2 separate regions of the Homo sapiens genome follow, and region 1 is linked to region 2. The links are contacts of gene promoters, found by promoter capture Hi-C in human tissues and cell types (Jung and others, 2019). All regions are on one chromosome and are shown on one strand. The core of a region is centred on a gene start or on the middle of the fragment in contact, and the rest is flanking DNA. Distances in the headings are between cores, read along the strand shown.

Region 1 (4,145 bases), core at 920-3,419, 700 kb before region 2:
GCAACCTCTGCCTCCCAGGTTCAAGCGATTCTCCTGCCTCAGCCTCCCGAGTAGCTGTGATTACAGGCGCTGGCCACCATGCCCCGCTGATTTTTTGTGTTTTTAGTAGAGACGGGGTTTCACCGTGTTAGTCAGGCTGGTCGTGAACTCCTGACCTCAAATGATCCACCTGCCTCAGCCTCCCAAAGCGATAGTACTACAGTCATGAGCTACCGTGCCCAGCTGCAGAACTATAACATTTTAATATCCTAATATTTTCTTTGTAATTCATGCATGTTAAAATGTTAAGATTATTTTTATTTTTAAATTTGTGTTATTATTTATTTATTTATTTATTTAGAGATAGGGTCTTAATCTGTTGCCCAGGCTGGAGTGCAGTGGTGAGATTTTGGCTCACTGCAGCCTGTAAGGCTTAAGAGATCCTCCTGCCTCAGCCTCCTGAGTAGCTGGGACTACAGGTGTGCACCATCACACCTAGCTAATTTTTGTGGTTTGTTTTTTTTTTTTTTTTTGTAGAGATGGTGTTTTGTCATGTTGCTCACACTGGTCTCGAACTCCTGGGCTCAAACCATCTGGCCACCTCAGCCTCCCAAAGTGCTGGGTTTATAGGCATGAGCCACCAAGCCCATTCTAAAATTTAAGATAAGAAAAAAAAAATCTATAACTTCTTAAATGGTTAGGGGAAAAGAGAGGGAATAAAGAAAACAAGATACCCTCCCTTTTCCAAAAAAGGGCAAGGAAACGAAAAGCATAAAAGTAGAAATACACAAAATAAATAGTGAAAATATATTTCACTATATTGCCAATCGCAGGGAATATAAGTATGTATAAAATATAAAACCATATAGAAGTCAAAACAAACTAATCAGATCTATATGTATCAACACAAACAAGTCTCAGACACATTGTACTGCGTTTATAAAATAAGATCCAAAAAGATATCATAGTAAGGGACCCGTTTGTAAATTTAAAAAATGACATAAAACAACGTTGTATATTGTTTATAGATACAAATATATGTAGCAAAATTATAGATGCAATAATACACACCAACTTAATGATAGTGTTTATTTCTGGAGATGAGAGAGGGCAGGAATGGGAGAAAGAGATGAGAGTAAATTTTTTTTTTTTGAGACAGGGTCTCACACCGTCGCCCCGGCTGGAGTGCAGTGGCACAATCTTAGCTCACTGCAACCTCCACCTCCCAGGTTCAAGTGATTCTTGTGCCTCAGGCTCCCAAGTAACTGGAATTACAGGTGTGTGCCACCACTCCTGATTAATTTTTGTATTTTTTTTTTTAAGTGAAGACAGGGTTTCACCATGTTGGCCAGGCTGGTCTTGAGCTCCCAGCCTCAAGTGATCTGCCTGCCTCGGCCTCCCTAACTGCTGGGATTATAGGAATGAGCCACTGCACCCGGCCTATGAGAGTGATCTTAACTGTATCTGCAATTTTTTCCTTAAAAAACAGAAAATAACAATTCTGAAACAACACATAACTAAAAGTTAATGTGTTACATCTGGGTTGACCACAAATGGGTGTCTGTTATATTTATTTCTGGATTTTTCTGTGCATTTAAATTATTTGATAATTAAATCTCTGTATTTTCTATTTCTTAATTACATTTTTCTAAGGACATAGAGAGGATGCAGTCCTGCTTTCACAGGTGCTGGCTGAGGTGCTTATTAAAATACAGCTACTAAAAATAGTGCCAGAACTATATTGAGTGGGGGGTTGCAGGTAAGGGAGCTGAGTCCTCATCTGTCATAGCAGGAAGACAATGCGTAATGTGTGATGCTGGTTATTTGTGGGCCTAGGGTCCCTCCCAGTTTCATGCTCTTCCCTGCTCCACTGAATCCAGTGGACTGCACTGTCCAGGCTTTCTTCCTAGCTGGCTTTTGGGGTTCAGCCAGTGGGAGGCTCTGTGGGAAGATGGGAGGGTGGGATTCAGCAGAGGTCAGGGTAGCTCTTTCCAGCTCTCTTCCTGCTTTGGCATGCTATATCTAACTGTAGCTGCATCCTAGGTACAACTCTTACTCACTGGGCTCTGATAAGTGTTTCCTTCCCTTGTCTCAATAGGCCCTGGAAGCGGGGAGGGTAGTAATAGCTTCTCACCATTGCTAGTCTCTAGGTGTCCTACCATACCTTGTTTGTTACCTTATCCAGTCCAGAAACTCTGTGAATAGTCCCTTCATTAAAGCCTTTTCATTTTAACCATCTGGGATGACACAAGAAACACTGTGAAAGGTAAAAATTGCTTTTGTTTGTTTGTTTGTTTGTTTCAGAACTCCTTTGCTGTGGATAAGAAGATTGACTAGGTGACTTGCTCCAAGTTCAAAGCCTGTTTGCATAAAACAACAACGACTTGTCTTTGTTCTGTTTGGTTATTTTGAGACAGGGTCTTGCTCTGTCATTCAGGTTGGAGGGCAGTGGTGCAATCATGGCTCACTGTAGCCTTGACCTCCTGGGGTCAGATGATTCTCCCCCCTCAGCCGCCTGAGTAGCTGGGACCACAGGTGCATGCTATCACGCCCAGCTAGTATTTTTAAATGATTTTTGTAGAGATGGGATCTCCCTATGCTGCCCAGGCTGGTCTTGAACTCCTGAGCCCAAGCAATCCTCCTGCCTTGGCCTTCCAAAGTGCTGAGGTTACAGGCGTGAGCCACCGCACCTGGTCACAACTTGATTTGAGAGCGTATGGTTGACAACATCTTGATGAAAAGGGATATGGCTGGCCAGGCATGGTGGCTCACACCTGTAATCCCAGCACATTGGAAGGCCAAGGTGGGCAGATCATGAGGTCAGGAGTTCAAGACCAACCTGGCCAACATGGCGAAACCCCATCTCTACTAAAAATTGAAAAATTAGCTGGGTGTGGTGGGGGGTGGCTGTAGTCCCAGCTACTCAGGAGGTTGAGGCAGGAGAATCGCTTGAACCCGGGAGGTGGAGGATGCAGTGAGCCGAGATAGTGCCACTGCAGTCCAGCCTGGGTGACAGAGAGAGAATCCATCTCAAAAAAAAAAAAAAAAAAAGGGATATGGCTGATACACACAGAAAGATCTACTCTCCTAAGACCTTGTGCCCCAAGAATTTTATGACTTCTTGGATGGTATCAATTGTGTTTTATGATTGATTTATTCATTTACTTGATAAGTTTTGATCGAGTGCGGCTCTGTACCAAGAACTGTGTCAAGAAATGGGGATACATTGTTGTGCGAGAGGAAGTCCTCATGTGCCAGGAATTTACAGTAGACAGGGGAAGATACGCAAACTCATTACGAAGAAATACGGTAAATGCGAGGGGAATGGAAGCAGAGGGTGCTCTGGAGTACTCAGGAGGATTATTCAGCCCAGCCTTATACTGTCAGGGATAGTTTCCCAAAAGAAAGGATATCTAACCTGAGAGCAGAAGAATAAATACTAGTTAGCCAAGTTAAGGAGGATGGGTAGATGGGAGGGAGTGAGTTTTAGTTTTAAGGCATTCTAGGTAGAGAGAAAAGCAATTTGGGCAAATCTGGTAGGGGATAAAAATCATTTGGGAAACTGAAAGTCAGCCTCTTGAGTTGATTGCAGGAGGAGAGGGTGAGATAAGTTAGGAGAAGAAAAACAGGGATCGGATCACAAAAAGCCTTTTAAGTAAGATTAAGGGCAGGGGTATTATTATGAGGTCAATACAAAGCCATTAGATCTTTTGAGTAGGTGGTATACAGTGTAATCGCATTTGCATTTTTAAAACATTATCTTGTCTATGCGGTGAGAATAAACTGGAGGTGGATAAGAGCAGAGGCAGCTCCCTTAGGAGGTTGTTGCTGTATCCTAGGCCAGAGATCATGAGTTGGACTTGAGGCTGGGGCTGGAGAGAAGCGGCCAGAGAAGAACATATGGCTAAAACAGGCAACCTGAAAACATTCAGGAAATTATTGTCATTAGAGGACAGCCCGGCAAAATGCAAATTGTTCTGTCCTTATTTGATCTCAGCTGGACTATGAATTCTGTGGGGACAGGGACTATTTTGTATTCATCCCCGTTTCCAGTACTACGGAAGTACTCAGGAAATGAATGTTCTTCCTAAGTGAGTCTCAGTGACATGGTGTTTGGATAGAGTGGTAACCCTCACGCCTTTGCTGACCCACCTTTATTAGGGAAG
Region 2 (3,781 bases), core at 174-2,673:
TTTAAGATCTGCACATTACGCTGTATGTTTTTAATATTTTAAAAATTATATTGACAAAGATTAATCATTAATGATTTAAGATAATCCTTCTGATAGGAAAATAATGGATAAACACAAAATCAGCAGGGCAGAAAAACCATAGACACAGTAAGTCCTCAATTCCCTTTAAAAATGAACTCACAGCCGGGCGCGGTGGCTCAGACCTGTAATCCTAGCACTTTGGCAGGTTGAGGCGGGCGGATCACCTGAGGTCGGAAGATCGAGACCAGCCTGACCAACACGGAGAAACCTCGTCTCTACTAAAAACAAAATTAGCCAGGCGTGGTGGCGCATGCCCGTAATCCCAGCTACTCCGGAGGCTGAGGCAGGAGAATCGCTTGAACCCGGGAGGCAGAGGATGCGGTGAGCGGAGATCAGGCCATTGCACTCCAGCCTGGGCAACAAAAGCAAAACTCCGTCTCAAAAAAAAAAAAAAAAAAAAATGAACTCACAGGAAAAAAGAACGGGACGGCACCTACAAAATATTGAAAGCAGTGGAATTGCAAACGACTTAAAATATTATAAAAGCAATACAAAATTATTTTTAGCCCAAGCGCTGTAGCTCACGCCTGTAATTCCAGCACTTTGGGAGGCCGAGGAGGGAAGATGGCTTGAGGCCGGGAGTTCATGACCAACCTGGGCAACAGAGTGAGACCCAGTCTCTACAAAAATAAAAAAATTTTTTAAAAAATCATTACTACATCATAAAGACTCAACTAACAACCCTCCCTCAATGAAAAGGGGAGAAAAGCTGACAAAAGCTTAAAAAAAAAAGGACAAAAAATAAAAGCTAGTGGGAAAACCGAAGCTCTCAACGTGTATTTACTCAAATGACTAGAAGAAATACTGGCATATGGTGTAAGAGAACTCTTCCTACTTGGGAGCCTGGGAAAAGTGTGCCAGGTCAGCTAATTTGCGGTCTGACTTGGGGCACGACACGCCCCCTCTGAACCTCAGTTTCCCCATCTGTAAAACGTGTACGCTGCGCGGGATGTCGTCGAATGCCCCTTCCCGTCCAAAGCCTGCGCTTCTCGGTAGGAGAGGCAAGGAGCTCTCCGCCAGGGAGACGCGTCCGGGACGGTTCGCTGAGCGGAGCCGGCGCGTAAATCGGGGCTGCAGGGCCCGCAGGATACGGAGCGCGACCCCGACGCCCCTCCCCCAGCAGAGCTGCCGGCAGCTGGCTCCAGGCCCACTATTCCCTCACCTCGGGCTACTGCCCGGGGTCCGCGTGGCTCCAGGCCTGCCTCTCCGGCTCACCTCTCGGGAGACCAGGTCCTGCTCTAGCGGTTGCTTCGCGTGCGAAAGCGCCCCCGGGCTCGGCCCGGCCCCTCCAGATTCACCCCGGCTCAAGCCCGTGGGGCACCGAGAACAATGGACGGGAGAGGCCCGCCCACCGCCGCGCTCATTGGCTGCCGAGAACGGCCCTGGAAATTCTGCCTTTCTGTTGGTGGAGACGGCACCCAGCCGGGCGGCAGGAGGGAGGCTGGGCCCAAGGCATTGTGGGAGATGTAGTCCGCCCGGAGACGAACCTGACCGCGGTCCCCGGAGTAGGGTTTGGGGCTGACAGCCTGGGCAGTGCCTGCGGACCAGAGGCAGGAAAATCCGCAGACTGACCGTCAGAAACCCTGTGTTGGCTAGAGCTGTAACCCGAGACAAGCCGTTTCACTTATCTAAGGCCTCTGTATATTTGTCTATAAAAAGTGAAAGTTGGATGGCCGGACTTGAAGGACCTTTTCGGCTGCGAACCTTGTGGCAAGGAGTATTGTTAGGCACCCTCGACCGGCGAGAGCGGACCCTGGGCAGGAAGGGAATCCATGGGGGAACAAATCCTCATCGCCCAAGCCTGGCGCCTTTCCCCCAGTTTGCAGCTGTACACATGCACCCGGTCTTCGCACACCCCTTTGTTTTCGCACGTGGTATTCCTGTGTTTGGAGGAACGCCCTGCCCCGCCTCCTCTGCCGCGGAACTCCCATTCTTCCAGCTTCTCCTGGGTGGAGCCTGCCCTGTCATCACCACCTCCCCAGGCAGAGACACCGCCCCTAGTACACGTGTTGGACGTCCCCATTTTATTTTTTAAATATATATATGTATGTATTTGTATATATATATATATATTTATTTATACACACACACTCACAGACAGGATCTACATTTCATAGAGACAGGGTTTCCATATGTTGCCCAGGCTGACCTCGAACCCCTGGGCTCAAGCGATCCTTCCTCCTCAGCCTCCCAAAGTGCTGGAATTACAGGTGTGAGCCACCGCACCTGGCTGACGTCTCCATTTTAGTACTGATCACCGGGTTGCTTACTTGTCAATCTCAGTATGGGGGAAGGGAGGGTGCCCGGGTGTGGGAGGTTGGCCTCCATCTTTGTGTTTTACGGCTGGCGCTGTTGAAGAAACGGCTGCCCCAACCCTGCTTGAAAACAGGTGAGAAACTACCTGGAAACTCAAGCGGAAAATCTAAAAATGGAGAGAGACACCCTTAATGGTCTGTGATAGAATAGTTATGTATGTTTGCACTGAGCAATTACTGGAGGCACCTGCAATGAAATGACTGCTTTTTTTTTTCCTCCTCTGTCGCCCAGGCTGGAGTGCAGTGACACGATCTCGGATCAAGTGATTCTCCTGCCTCAGCCTCCCAAGTAGCTGGGATTACCGGCGTGCGCCACCACACCTGGCTAATTTTGCGTGTTTTTAGTAGAGACAGAGATTTCACCATGTTGATCAGGCTGGTCTTGAATTCCTGACCTCAGGTGATCCAGCCGTCTTGGCCTCCCAAAGTGCTGAGATTACAGGCATGAGCCACGTGCCCGGTCCTTTTCCCATTTTTAAATTGGATTTATTTGTAAGAGCTCTTTGTATATTAAGAAAATTATCCCTTTGTCACAGCAGTTGCTACTCTTTCTCAGTTTGCTGTTTGTTTTCTGCTGGTTTATTAAATATAGAAATTTGAAATTTTTTTGCAGTCAAATTTGTTAATCTTATCTTTTTATAGCCTGTGAGTTTTGTGTTAGAAAGTCCTCTGCACCACTCCAAAGATTATGTGAAATTCACCTGTTTTTCACTAATTAACCTCTTGAATCCAATTACAGAGATGCAAAGTGAAGTTCAGCTAGTGATTCTTATCCAATACCCTGGTAGCATCTTTATTATCCCAGACTGACCACATGCAAATAGCACCACCTCCAGGCCAGCCTGAGAAGTCTGCACTAAGCCCCTGGATGCAGAATTCTGGGCCACCACCCCTCCAAGTGATTTTTTTTGGGATGACATTGTATTAAAAAAGATGGGTTTCTCCATGTGTCCATCCTTACCAGGAATGGAAATTTACACAAAAAGGAAAAGATGCAGGGGAGGCTGGGGATGCACAGATGGAACTTTCCAGCAGCTCAAGCGTTTATTTACCTCTGTTCCTAACCCATGTCAACCCTTGACCACAGAACTGGCACTAGCTTGTCACTGGAGAGTCCTAAAGAAGCTGTCTCCTCTGTGTCTGATTCTGGGAAGCTGGTCCTTGCCAGTGTCAACTATCCTACATGAGACAGAGAGAAAGTCACATTTAAGACCAATTCATGGCATAATGATCCTACTGAGAAGGGCCCTGGTAGCCAAGCCAGTACCCTAAGACCAGCCTGCTACATCGAAGCAAGCCTGGAAACACAGCCAAGTTCAAGGTTGCTCCCCCAAGAGAGTCCTTTCTCCATTGGCCAAACCACAAGGGTGAGAGAGGCTCTGTTC

Evidence for each region. Contacts are between HindIII fragments. The study calls those that stand out against the background at their distance.
Region 1: a contact is called between a fragment that was not itself captured here and the fragment with the promoter of ZSCAN2 in region 2, in 1 of the 25 tissues and cell types used here (hippocampus).

Annotation. Positions count from the first base shown.
Region 1 is chr15:85,296,877-85,301,021 of GRCh38, reverse strand. No RefSeq gene overlaps it. Among named protein-coding and RNA genes, the nearest start is that of MIR7706, 82 kb to the left of the region's middle. The HindIII fragment of the contact is 7,430 bases long and covers 1-4,145 here.
Region 2 is chr15:84,598,651-84,602,431 of GRCh38, reverse strand. It overlaps ZSCAN2 (zinc finger and SCAN domain containing 2), which reads right to left and starts at 1,423. Exons shown (of 3, transcript NM_181877.4): 1 at 1,297-1,423. LOC105370947 (a long non-coding RNA gene) reads left to right here. Exons shown (of 4, transcript NR_186225.1): 4 at 2,629-2,998. RefSeq lists a silencer at 1,056-1,205 and an enhancer at 1,526-1,575. The HindIII fragment of the contact is 21,972 bases long and covers 1-3,781 here.